5 separate regions of the Homo sapiens genome follow, and regions 2, 3, 4 and 5 are each linked to region 1. The links are contacts of gene promoters, found by promoter capture Hi-C in blood cells and fetal thymus (Javierre and others, 2016). All regions are on one chromosome and are shown on one strand. Each heading gives the region's core, a stretch centred on a gene start or on the middle of the fragment in contact. The rest is flanking DNA. Distances are from core to core; before and after follow the strand shown. Region 1 holds the start of BRPF1 (bromodomain and PHD finger containing 1). Region 2 overlaps SETD5 (SET domain containing 5). Region 3 overlaps SETD5 (SET domain containing 5). Region 4 overlaps SETD5 (SET domain containing 5). Region 5 overlaps EMC3-AS1 (EMC3 antisense RNA 1).

Region 1 (2,559 bases), core at 39-2,538:
CAGATCCCAAGATCTTAATCAGCAAACCTCTTCCTGGCATGTCGATTTTATTGGGATGGTTTTTAGAAAACATACATTTTATTGGGTCAAATGCAAAGTTTGCATTAAGAAGATAGAAGCTTTCAGATGCTTTGGGCTTTGTCCCAGAACCCTGGAAGACCTTTCACGCTCCTCTTTGATGACAAAACTGGAGAAGTATTGTTTAAGGATGTCTCCCCCTGCCATGCAAGTTCTCTGAAACCCTCAAGAACTAACAACAGAGTTTTCGAGCTCTGTTTTACAAATAAGGAACTTAAAGAACTGAACTTGCCCACGTTCACATTGCTAGGAGGTGACCCACTCACATTAAATCAGCTGTTTTGGCACCATGTTCCAATCAGCAACCCGCAGCACATCCCTGCCAACCCACAGATTTCCCACCGCTTTACCAGACAAGCCCTTTCACACCCACCGGCCCCAAACCAGCCCCTTCTCTCAGACCCATACCTTTTCTCTAGCACCTCTCCTTTACTTTTCCCAAGTTTCTTCCCTTTCCTTCAGTCACGCCCCGTTATCCCTAATCGGTCCTGCCCTTTCCCCACAGCTCCGCCCCTGCCTTACCAAGCCCCGCCTGCTCCCTTCAGCGTCGCATCGCTTTTTCCAACTTTGTTCTTTATTTCTAGTCCAGCTCCACTTTCCAGGCTCATCCAAAGCTCCGCCCTTTCTCTCGCGAGTACTCTTCTTCTGTTTAGCCCCACTTTTTACCCCGCTATTCTAACAGGCCCCCGCTGTGCGGTAGCCCCGCCCCCTCCCACAAGCCCCGCCCCACAGACCGGTCTAGTCTCCAGCCCCGCCCCGGTCCTACCCATAACTACCGGTCCCTTAGGCTCCAGCCCGCATCCCTCTTGCTCCCGGCCCTGCCCCCAGCCCCGCCCCGTGACTCTGGCCCCGCCTCACCGCCTTCCTCCGAGACCAAGGCCAGGTCCCTCCCGCAGCCGCGGCGCCAGCAGGAGGCAGGGAGCGGATAGGGAGGAGGCAGAGGGGGAGGGGAGAAGGGCGGGCTCCTCACGCCCAGCCCCGCGCTCACCGTCCGTGGTTGCAGATTCGCCACAAACCGCCCGACGACCCCAGATCCCGAGTACGGTGACTTCAGTCTCCAGAAACTCCACTCTAAGATGGGAGAGCTAGAGAAGCCCTGTGGGGTGTCCAGGGTCCTTTCTGAATCCCGGAGCACGGTCTTTCGAGCCTCAGCGGGCGGGCGGGGATCCGTGGCGAAAGTGCAGCTCAGTAGCGCCGCGGCGCCACGTTTACCCTGCGCAGACGCCGTCGCCGCCGCTGCTGCCGCCGCCGCTGCCACAGCCTTTGCCGCCACGGTCTCCGCCGCCGCTGTCCTCGCGCTGCCTCTGGGAGCCTCCATTGTTCCAGCAGCGCCCGGTCCCGAGACCGGGCATCTTGGGGGCTCGCGAAACGGGCGGCGGCCGACGGAGTTGAGACCCCAGGGCGCCGGCGGGACCAGGAGCGGCAGGGGTCAGCTCAGGAATCCCGGGGAGCCGGGACCAAAGCGTGGGGCGGCAGGGGGCCGGGGTGGCGAGGTCTACGGTCTCCGGAGTTGGGGCTCCCCCTTCCCGGCCCGACTTTCCCCGCCGACCTCCCCAAGTGGGGTCGGAGCCCCGGCGGGCGCCCCCGGCGATGAGCCCGGACTCGAGGTGGCCGGTGAGTGCGGGCCTGGGACCAGGGCGGGAGTGGCCGGCAGGGAAGGGGTAGGCTACGTTCGTGGGACGCGCACTGAGCCGCGTGGCCCGGGAACCTCTCTGGCAACTCCAGTTGGGAGAACTGACAGTGCATTGCTTCCCAGCAGGCATCCTGGGGCAACAGTGTATCTTTCGGGGCTGCCCGGGCTAGTGGCAGGCGGGGAGCCTTGTTTCACTTGTTACACTTCCACAAAGGGGAAACGCCGCCGCATCCGGAGAGTGGGCTGCGGGCACTGCCGGGGCCCAGCCCTATCCCTCCGGCCCCCGCCCCTTACTTCCTCCAGCCCCCTGAGCTTCAGGGGCAGATGCAGCCGCCATTCTCCTTGGGCCCTCCCCACGGGCTTTCTGGTCTAAGTTCTCGTCTCCCTCGCCTGTGCCTCTGCTGCCGGGTTCCAAGGGGAGATTGCTGATTCGCTGTGCTACTTTGGGAACCATTCACCCGGGACCCAGCTTGGAAAGAGGAGAGCTTGTTTGTGCTTCGGTTGGTTTATGTTTAAAGACACAGCCGCAGGTAGGAAATAGAAGAGTTGCAGTTGGACGTGTAGCGTTACTGATGTGAAAATCAGGAGCCGTTGACAGTGGAGCTGGAGCAGCCCACTTGCCTGGTTAAGGCACAGGTGGAGAGGCCAAGAGGGGTTATTTTGTCAGGGAGCTCATGATAGCCCTGCCTGGCTGGGATGGTGCCAAGCCCCTAGCTGAATGGTTGAACTCAACTAGGCCGAGAGAAATTGGGGCAGTCTCTGACCAAGCTGGGCTTCCTGAGGCCTGGTGCCATCTGCTGTCTACACTCACCCAGGAATGTTGGGGAGCGGGGAGGGAGGGCCCCTGC
Region 2 (2,559 bases), core at 33-2,532, 300 kb before region 1:
ATAATTTTCTTTAAAGGACTGAATGTCATTCTCATTTCTGTAGTGGAAAGAGCATAGACTTTGGAGTCAGACAGACTTTGTTTCAAATCTTAGCTGTGTCAGTGTGTAACCTTGGGGAAGTCATGTAATCTCACCACCACATCTTCCCACTCTGTAAAAATGGAGTATATACCATGTTTAGTGGTTGCTGAAATTAAATGAATTAATATGTATTTAAAGCACCTAACAAATATTGGGCAGTTCACAATGGTAGCCATTACTGTTGTTATTATTTGTCAGTAGACTAACATAACTTTACAGTTTAGTTTTTATTTTGAAGTTCTATGGTATTATCATGCAGCTGATAAATAATTTTGTCCTTAATATGCTTGCATGTCATTGGTGGATGAGAAATTATTACTCTAATATTTGAAAGGTGTTGGGGGTTCATCAAGATGAGAGGTATGATAAATATAAGATGCCATTGTTTTTACCTGTACTTTCTTCAGGGTATCCTGTCTTGGTAGTGAATGGAAGAGGGCCTGGTCCCTGGGGCAGTGCAGAAGGCACTTTGATCATCTCACTCACTGCAAATGTCATGTGAGGTTTCATGGAAGTATTAAGAGATCCAATTAAGAAGAATAGTTCTGAGTCTAAACCAGCCCAGAGTGGCTTCTCTAGGGGAAACTCCCCGCTCAGCTGGTACGTTTGTGTTTGTCATTAGGGACACCTTGTATCTCAGGTGCCTGCCTTCAGACATCTGCCTGTACTGGCTTCATGTTACACACAAATCCACATTTAATAACACTCCTACTGTTATTTATAGGCTTAGTTATGTTAATAAGATTGTTTCACCGAGTTCTTTCTCTTATCCTAGTGGCTAGTGGTTGTGGAAAGAGGAGGGGTTAGAATGGGAAATGAAGTGTTAGTTTAAGGGAAGATTAGGTGTTATGCTATCATGCATTGCTTTTCGCCTTTGTGCAGCCCTGAATCTGTGGAGGCTAGTCCAGCAGTTAATGAGAAGAGCGTGTATTCCACTCATAATTATGGGACCACTCAGAGGCATGGGTGTCGAGGACTGCCTTATGCTGTGAGTATGCATTTGTTTCTCTCCAGAACAGTGATCTTCCTGGAGTGTAATCCATTCTTATACATTGTGACTTTCTTGAAATGTTTATATGCAGCATGACGAAGTTGCCCCTTTTGCACTTCCCTGACTCCAGCGGACGTCTAGCCCTGCATCATTGTTCTTGTTTTTATGTCCCAGTTGACCTTGGCATTTTGTTTTATCACTTTCCTGGTTGAAGCCAAAAAACAAAGGGTACTACTTTCTTCTTTCTTTCCATATGTACCATACTTTAGGGGAGAGAGGGGCCAGTGTTTGGACACTGTTGATTTAAAAAATCTTATTTTCAGGATCATAATTACGGAGCCCCTCCTCCTCCGACACCTCCTGCTTCTCCCCCTGTCCAGACGATCATCCCTCGTTCTGACCTGAATGGCCTGCCGTCGCCTGTAGAGGAACGCTGTGGAGACAGCCCGAACTCTGAAGGAGAAACTGTACCTACCTGGTGTCCTTGTGGTCTTTCTCAGGATGGCTTCCTTCTCAACTGTGACAAGTGCAGGTAAGATCCTGTTCCATCTAAATTTAAGTCTGGGTTGCTGGGATTAGGGTTTCTTACAAGTAGGGAAAAGCTCAAAGTATTCTTTCTTGTGTTTGTTAATGTAGATGATTCCTTAGTGCTCCTTGGCTCGAATTCTCTGCACTAGGTGAGAATTGCTGACAACAAGGAATGAGAGATTGATGTTAAAGCTATTGAATTTGATATGAAATTTAATGTCCTGGAAACATTTGGTAGGTGGGAGGGAGGGGGTAGCATATGCAGAGACACTTCGCCCATGTGTGCTATGATGTGATGCATGCTGTTGGAAGGACTACTTTAAGTTTATTTTCCCTCTTTAGGGGAATGAGCAGGGGGAAGGTTATTAGACTTCATCGGCGGAAGCAGGACAACATATCAGGTGAGCGGAAGATGGGTTAGGTCCACAATTTGACATAAAAATATTCTGTGATCTGAATGTTCATTTTAAGAACCCCTCTTGGCCAGGCGCAGTGGCTTACGCCTGTAATCTCACCACTTAGGGAGGCCAAAGCGGGCGGATCACCTGAGGTCGGGAGTTTGAGACCAGCCTGACCAACATGGAGAAACCCCATCTCTACTGAAAATCCAAAATAGCCAGGTGTGGTGGCGCATGCCTGTAATCCCAGCTACTTGGGAGGCTGAGGCAGGAGAATCGCTTGAACCCGGGAGGCGGAAGTTGCCATGAGCTGAGATTGCGCCAGTGCACTCCAGCCTGGGCAACAAGAGCAAAACTCCCTCTCAAAAAAAAAAAAAAAAAAAAAAGAACCCCTCTTACAAGTTCCCATGGTCCCCCAGCCAGCTCTTTTCACAGAAAGAGATAGAAGTCCTCTCAAGACCACTGTATAGTTCTCTCATTGTAAACGAAATGTGTTGAGAACAGTTTAGTCCTGTAGCAAAGTATTCCTTGTGAACACAAAAAATATGGATTCCTGTTTTA
Region 3 (2,559 bases), core at 23-2,522, 280 kb before region 1:
ATAGCAGTGAAGAAGAGTTCTTCTTCTAATATTGGTCTTCTTCTAATATCTCCTAATATTGGTTAGAAAGGACTTACCTAATGCAGAACCTAAGAACATTTTCATTATTCAACAAAATTGTAATAAAATTCTGAAAATCCCTCAGAGTATAAGTTAATCAGATAGATAAGAAAACCCTCCATGGGATTATTTAGAACAATGTATATTTCTAATAGGCTCACTGTTTCATATCTCACTAAAGAGGTAAGGGCCTGGCCTTGTAAGTTAAAAACTTACCAGTATAGGACAAATTAAAGTTGTATCTGTATAGTTGTACTCAGATTCTTATGCTATTTATTTTTATTTTTATCATTATTATTCTGCAACTTCTGAAAAGAAGAGGAGTTCAGGTATTTGACAGAACATTTTATGATATCCCTAGAGTTTCTAAATTGAATCATAGTTTTTAAGAAGCATTTTGCATTTTTTAGTTCCTCAGTTGGTATTTTAAAAACATTTATAAGTGGCCAACAAGGCTCTCAGTAGTGTTTCACCTTGTTCTCTCTAAACTCCTCTTCTAAACACAATGTGTATAGGGCATTTGGTCTCCAGACTTCTTAGAAAAACCAGTCTGACTGATAATGAAACAGTGTGCTTTGCATTGATAATTAATATTTCATTTTATACACTGGAGCATTATCTGTAAATCTCCAAACATAGCATTGAAATTTAGTTGAACCGGGACTCGGTGAAAATCTGCTCAGTGTTCAGTACTGTACTATAAGCTTTCTTCACATACATTATCTCACTTACCATGCATGAAATTGGGATCATTGTCCTAAATTTATATATCCAGAAGCTTTGTCTCAGAAATGTTTGGTAACTTGTCCAAAGTGAAGCAGCTAATAAGTGACACAGCCAGATTTCTTCTGGTGGGGGATAGTAGGGGTTCACAGGGTCTCACTGTTGTCCAGGCTGGAGTGCAGTGGCATCATCACAGGCTCACTGCAGCCTTGACCTCCTGGGCTCAAATGGTCCTCCTACCTCAACCTCTCGTGTAGCTGGGACCACAGGCACACCACCACGCCTGGCTAATATTCATATTTTTTGTAGCGACAGGGTTTTGCTGTGTTTCCTAGGCTGATCTCAAACTCCTGAGTGCAAGGAGTCTGCCCACCTTGGCCTCACATTCTGCTGGGATTACAGATACGAGCTACTGAGCCCAGCCTCACAGCCAAGTGTCAAGCCAGGGCTTCTGGACTCCAAAACCTGTATTGCTTCCTTGCTCTTTCGCCATAATAGCGAGACCTTTAAAATATTTATCCATCTTTGAGCCTCCCAGAAAACTCCTTTGCAATATATTTTAATAGAGGTTCAGAGAAGGGAGAAATGTTCTTTTGATTTTAACAACTTGCTGAGTAGGTGCATCTAAAATTAACTTATTATCCATGAGGTTAATTGTATCTTGTTAGATACAAACAAATGTCCATGTTCCTTTTTTATATGAGTCCTGAAATATTGTAAAATTATACAACAGAACCTGGAGGAGTAGGTTTGATTGTATTTGCTGTGTTTCACCTCATAGCTAACCATGGTAGCATCTTTCTTCTAGAATACTCCTGTTCTGATTTTATGTTCCCTTTTTGTAGTCATCAGATCCAGAATGTAAATTATTTTACAAGTACATCTACTAGACCCTGGAAATATTAAAAAATTACTCAGATAGGAAAGCTTAGTGACCCCAAATGAGTGTTTTCTGCTTTGAAAAGAAAAACTTAAAGGTGGCCATAACAAAAGATTTTTCACTCCTGAGCCTAATTTTTCCATTTATAAAATGAGTGCTTTGGACAAGATGACTTCTAAGTTCTCTTCTAAGCTTTAAGGCTATATGTATGGTTCTGACAATTCATCTTTACATCATTATTCTGTATCTAAGATAGTTCATTCTTCGGATTTTTTATTTTGTTTTTGTGTTTGCTTTTCAGAGACCTGGTTGTATCCTAAAATGTTTACGTGATTCAAATTACCATTGAGAGCTCTTTTTTATATCCTTGTTCACTCTTCCTTCCAAGTGTTTACAGGTTTACAGTTTCAGTTTTGCTTTCATTTGGCCAGCCACAATGACATTTGTATGATGTAAGATTTTTTTTTTTTTTTTTTTTTTTTTGGTAAAATTTTTGTGGATTGTTTCCTAGGTTTCTAAGAGGGAAAATCTATGAGAATTGCTCTCTGGTGAAGAGAGTATTTACTTACCTGTAATACATGTTCTCTAAAGGTATAAATTATAATAATTCACCTTTGCTCTTCCTATTGGGGGAGGGTCTTACTCAGAAATTGATGTTTATCAAAATTCGATCTGTCTTATGTCAGGGCAGGAGAGCCACAGAGTGGTGAGCAACCTACAACTGTATATCTTAAGAGAACACAATTACAGGTAAGAAATTTTCTGTCTTCCACAGGATACATAATCTTATTATCCTAATCTTTGCAGGTTTACTATCTGGCCTAAATTTATTTCTTGTCAGTTTATTATTCTAATCTTTACTACCAAAAACTTGTGACTGATAGGTCTTCTTTTTG
Region 4 (2,559 bases), core at 18-2,517, 260 kb before region 1:
GGCCAAGGCAAAGGAATTGCTTGAGCCTGGGAGGTTGCAGGGAGCCAAGACTGCGCCACTGCATTCCACATTCCAGCCTGGGCAACAGAGGGAGACTCTCTCTCAAAAAAAAAAAAAAAAAAAAAAAAACAACCTTACTAGATTAGTTTGGGGAAGGATATTTTTGAGAAGGAAAAAAGCATTCAGGAAAATGGTGAGAAGTCTTAAGTGCTAAGGGGAAGAAGGTAAGAAGATAAACAGTGGAAGAGAACAAGATCTTCAGGAGGGGAAAGCATCTAGAAAGAAGAGTGGAAGCAACATTGGGAGGACAAGCTTAGTTAGCCTCTCCTTTCTACCAGAATAACCCTCCCCTCCTATTCTTGCCCTGAGAGCCATACTCCACCCGCCATTTCACACATACGTGCACCTAGATGTACACCACCCACTGTCCATGCCAAGTAAAATTCACAGCCAAAACCCTGCTTTGCTGAAGCAGCCTCATTTCCCCTACCTCAGCATGTGCCTGCCACCTAGGCCACAGTTATTCAGAGTCTACATTAGGCACCCTCTCCTTACCTCAGCCCTAGCACCCCTGAGTCATTGTCACACTACCACCTTCACTCTCTTCACGTGTTCCCATTTACATCTTTCCATTAAGCACTCACTGCTCAGTCTCTGTTATGGGACTGCTGCCTCACCTGAAAGTCCCAAGGTAAAGTCCTACCCTCTGTAGGATACAGGGACCTAAGTATACACATACATGCTTTTTCTGCTCTGTTGCCAAAAGTACAATGGATTTTACAAAATAACATTAATAGGGGTGGCTCAGGTCTAATTAGATTATGCCAAGAACCAACTCTAGCCTGTGAGCTAGGGATTCCATCAATCACATTTCCTGTAACTGTCATTCAAGAGGAACTGGCCATCTCCCTAACCATGTCAGCCCCCAGCACACTAATGTCTCCCCCTGGATAGCACTGGGAGGGCCTGAGGCATATAAGAGAATAAAGAAATGTGACAAGCAGAAGAGGCATTGGATGAAGGAACAAGGTCCATGTAAGGAGGAATAAGGGGTAGGGTGCCCCTCAATAACAAATACTGTAGGTTGCTAAACTCTCATCTAAAATACAAAGACGTATAACACTAAAATTTCACCAGTCTAACTCTTTCCTTGTATGTGCTTGAGATGTTTACTTACAGCATGAAACATTATAACCAATTTATCCTTAAATGCTTTCAGAGATACCAGGAAGCATTTTAACAAGTCATTCTGTCCATTGAGATGAGTTCTGCAGTTAAATATTTCCCCTATGCATTCTTATTCAACTTCCCCGCCCCCGAAAAAAGTTATGGCTAACATCTATGCTTGCTTTTATTTTTTGTTTTGTTTTGCTTCTTGACTTCGAGTAGATGAATAATAACAAGATGCTTTTCCCTCCTCTAGAACATATCCTCCCCTGAGAGTTCCCCTGCGCATAGGCCCGAGTCCCTGTCACCCGAGGTAGTTATCACACCATCTCAATCACACTTGGAGGCTGAGAGTGAGTGTTCATGAATGTGTTCCTGAGTGTGTGGGGAGGGCTGGGGATCTGAGTCAGTGGGGTGATGGGCTGGAGGGCGGCCACTCAGTCACAGTAAGTTGAATGAGTCTTCCTGTGTGACTGTGACTACACAGGACTGTCAATGTAGATGGAGGAAAATGAAGGTAGGAGCGTGTGTGTTTGTGTGTGTGTGTGTTGTGTGTGTGTTTGGTGGGGTTGGTTTTTGCCGTTTGGGGGAGGGGGTGGCTGGAGTTCTATTAAAGAATAGAATCTAGAAGTCAAGATGCTGATATGTGGTAGGAGCCTTGTTAAAGAAAGGCTAATAAATCAGGAAAGTTGAGTCAAAAGTTGTAAGAGCTGTTTTTTGAGTTGGGTGGTGACTTATGCCTTGTTCTAGGGTTAATCTAACAGCTCTGTAAACCAGATGTTTTGACCTTTGGTTGATAGATTGAGCAGCTTCTTCAGGAAGGGAAAGTCATTCTGTCTTTCAGCTTTCCTACATTTTCTCTGCAGCTCCTTACTGGGTGCACAAGGAAACCAAGTGAGTCCCTGGCTTTCTGTCACAGGCCACCATTCTGCAATGGTTAGGATATGGTTGCTATACAAGTGTTATCTCTTTAGGATATCAGTAGAGTGGTTTTCTCACAAACCCTACTGCTGTGGATATGTCAAACTCAGATTTTAGTGCTAGAGTTTCTATTATAAGCTTTCAGATTTAGTAACATTAACTCTGAATCTATTAATACATGGGACCTTTTTTCTCTTGAAGAGAAAGTTAGAGTCTCTCAGAAATAGTCAACTGAACTTTAACCCTATCCCCTTCCAATAAAAAATTAGGGCATAATTCAGTGACAGTCTACTAAGTTCTGAATCAGTAGTAGTTCACAGGTTAATATGAAACTGAAAAAGGTTTTATTCCACTAGTATATTAGAGATTTTCTTGGTGTTTTGACTCTAGCTTGTTAGGAAAGTAAAGCTCTCTCTCCTCAGTTGTTAAAGATTCTAAGATAACGTAATTTGAAGACTGATATGGTATGGT
Region 5 (2,559 bases), core at 28-2,527, 260 kb after region 1:
TGCTCTGTCACCCAGGCTGGAGTGCAGGCAGTGGCGCAATCTCAGCTCACTGCAAGCTCCACCTCCTGGGTTCATGCCATTCTTCTACCTCAGCCTCCCGAGTAGCTGGGACTACAGGCGCCTGCCACCACGCCCGGCTAATTTTTTGTATTTTTAGTAGAGATGGGGTTTCACGTTGTTAGCCAGGATGGTCTGGATCTCCTGACCTTATGATCCACCTCAGCCTCCCAAAGTCCTGGGATTACAGGTGTGAGCCACCGTGCCGGGCCTTTCTCTTTTTTTTTTTTTTTTTTTTTTTTTAAGAGACTAAGTCTTGCTCTGTCACCGAAGGTGGAGTGCGGTGACAGCATCATAGTTCATTGCAGTCTCAAACACCCGGGTTCAAGCGATCCCCCCACCTCAGTCTTTGGAGTAGCTGGGACTACAGGCAAGCACCACCAGGCCTGGCTAATTCTGTTAGTTAGTTAGTTAGTTATTTTGAGAGAGTTTCGCTCTTTTGCCTAGGCTATAGTGAAGTGCCACAATCTCGGTTCACTGCAACCTCTGGCCCCTGGGTTGAAGCAAATCTCCTGCCTCAGCCTCCCTAGTAGCTGGGATTATAGGTGCCTGCCACCATGCCTGGCTAATTTTTGTATTTTTAGCAGAGATGGGATTTCACCATATTGGCCAGGCTAGTCTCAAACTCCTGACTCAGGTGATCCACCCACCTGCCTCAGCCTCCCAAAGTGCTAGGATTACAGGTGTGAGCCACCACGCCTGGCCAATTCTTTTATTTATTTATTTATTTATTTATTTTTTGAGACGGAGTCTCGCTGTCGCCCAGGCTGTAGTGCAGTGGCACGATCTCGGCTCACTGCAAGCTCCGCCTCCCGGGTTCACGCCATTCTCCTGCCTCGGCCTCCTGAGTAGTTGGGACTATAGGCGCCCACCACCTCGCCTGGCTAATTTTTTGTATTTTTAGTAGAGACGGGGTTTCACCATGTTAGCCAGGATGGTCTCGATCTCCTGACCTCGTGATCTGCCCGCCTTGGCCTCCCAAAGTGCTGGGATTACAGGTGTGAGCCACCGCGCCCGGCCATTCTTTTATTTTTTATAGAGATGAGGTCTTGCTGTGTTTCCCAGGCTGGTCTCAAATTTTTAGCTTCAAGTGATCCTCCTGCTTGGGCCTCCCAAAGTGCTGGGATTATAGGCATGAGCCACTGCACCCAGCCCTCATATTTTTCTTTTTTAAACTTAGGTAAACAAGCTAATTGTGGAGAAAAATCCACAAGGAATCTACAGATGTAAAAAATACAGTTTTTCTCTGCTCTCTTTCCCATTCCTCAGGGGTAATCATCCTTCCAAATTTTTTCTCTTCATATACAAGCTGTAATTGTGTGCAAGTACAGGTATACTCTTATGCCTACACATATATATGTTTATATATTGTTTTTACAAAAGCAGAATCTTAACTATGATTATGGGTGGTGGTGGTGGTGTTTAAAGAGACAGGGTCTCACTCTGTCGCCAGGCTGGAGTGCAGTGGCACAATCGTAGCTCACTGTTGCCTCCACCTCCTGGGCTCAATGATCCTCCCTCCTCAGCCTCCCAAAGCAGTGGGATTATAGGCATGAGCCTTCATGCCCAGCCTGATTATCCTTTTGCAGGCTGCTGTTTTTTCCACTTCATATCAGGAATGTCTTTCCTCTGTCAAAAAATAGAGTATGGCTCAGCAGTCCCTAACCTTTTTGGCACCAGGGACTGGTTTCATGGAAGACAGTTTTTCCACAGACCGTTTCGGGGCATGATTTCAGGATGAAACTGTTCAACTTTAGATCATCAGGCACTACTTAGATTCTCATAAGGAATGTGCAGCCTAGATCCTGCGCATGTGCAGTTCACAATGGGGTTTGCGCTCCCGTGAGAATCTAATGCAGCCGCTAATCTGACAGGAGGCGGATCTCAGTGGTAATGACCACTTGACCACCCCTCACCTCCTGCTGTGCAGCTTGGTTCCTAGCAGACCACAGACTCCGTGATCCAGGAGTTGGGGACCCCTGATCTACCTTTTTCTTTTTTTTTTAAATTTTGTAATTAAAAAGTCTTTTTTAGACAGAGTCTCGCTGTGTCACCCAGGCTGGAGTGCAGTGGCACAATCTCGGCTCATTGCAACCTGCACCTCCCGGGTTCGAGTCGTTGACCTGCCTCAGCCTCCTGAGTAGCTGGGATTGCAGGCAGTTGCCACCACGACTGGCCAATTTTTTTTTGTATTTTTTAGTAGAAATGGGGTTTCACCGTGTTGGCCAGGCTGGTCTCGAACTCCTAACCTCAGGTGATATGTGTACCTCAGCCTCCCAAAGTACTGGGATTACAGGTGTGAGCCCCCACGCCCAGCCTGGCTTATCCTTTTTGATGACTATAATATTTCAAAAATTAAAATTACTCCATCATAATTTACTGAACCCTTTCCAGATTGATGGGCATTTATAGTCTTTCCAACTTTTCACAAAGTAATTTTTCTAGTAATAGTGAAAATACATACTGGAGTTGGCAAGTGATTGAATCTTTTAATAAATGTGA

What was found. The method cuts DNA at HindIII sites, captures the fragments that hold promoters and counts their contacts. A CHiCAGO score of 5 or more calls a contact.
Region 2: a contact is called between a fragment that was not itself captured here and the fragment with the promoter of BRPF1 in region 1, in 2 of 17 cell types (neutrophils and megakaryocytes). The highest score is 6.8, in neutrophils.
Region 3: a contact is called between a fragment that was not itself captured here and the fragment with the promoter of BRPF1 in region 1, in 3 of 17 cell types (megakaryocytes, total CD8 T cells and naive B cells). The highest score is 9.8, in megakaryocytes.
Region 4: a fragment that was not itself captured here is called in contact with the fragment with the promoter of BRPF1 in region 1 in 1 of 17 cell types (megakaryocytes); the score reaches 6.0 in megakaryocytes.
Region 5: a fragment that was not itself captured here is called in contact with the fragment with the promoter of BRPF1 in region 1 in 3 of 17 cell types (neutrophils, monocytes and naive B cells); the score reaches 8.5 in neutrophils.

The regions. Positions count from the first base shown.
Region 1 is chr3:9,730,447-9,733,005 of GRCh38, forward strand. BRPF1 (bromodomain and PHD finger containing 1) reads left to right here and starts at 1,289. Exons shown (of 14, transcript NM_001003694.2): 1 at 1,289-1,692. RefSeq lists enhancers at 725-1,284, 1,845-2,404 and silencers at 748-1,107, 1,578-1,627, 1,638-1,767. The HindIII fragment of the contact is 5,381 bases long and covers 118-2,559 here.
Region 2 is chr3:9,432,882-9,435,440 of GRCh38, forward strand. It overlaps SETD5 (SET domain containing 5), which reads left to right. Exons shown (of 23, transcript NM_001080517.3): 4 at 964-1,069; 5 at 1,453-1,604; 6 at 1,943-2,001. Among named protein-coding and RNA genes, the nearest start is that of SETD5, 37 kb to the left of the region's middle. The HindIII fragment of the contact is 2,635 bases long and covers 1-2,559 here.
Region 3 is chr3:9,450,539-9,453,097 of GRCh38, forward strand. The region is part of intron 16 of SETD5 (SET domain containing 5); the gene reads left to right. Among named protein-coding and RNA genes, the nearest start is that of SETD5, 54 kb to the left of the region's middle. The HindIII fragment of the contact is 872 bases long and covers 837-1,708 here.
Region 4 is chr3:9,467,096-9,469,654 of GRCh38, forward strand. The region is part of intron 18 of SETD5 (SET domain containing 5); the gene reads left to right. Among named protein-coding and RNA genes, the nearest start is that of SETD5, 71 kb to the left of the region's middle. The HindIII fragment of the contact is 1,914 bases long and covers 311-2,224 here.
Region 5 is chr3:9,990,051-9,992,609 of GRCh38, forward strand. All of the region lies in intron 2 of EMC3-AS1 (EMC3 antisense RNA 1), which reads left to right. It also overlaps a transcript of EMC3 not described here. Among named protein-coding and RNA genes, the nearest start is that of EMC3-AS1, 4.4 kb to the left of the region's middle. The HindIII fragment of the contact is 3,447 bases long and covers 1-2,559 here.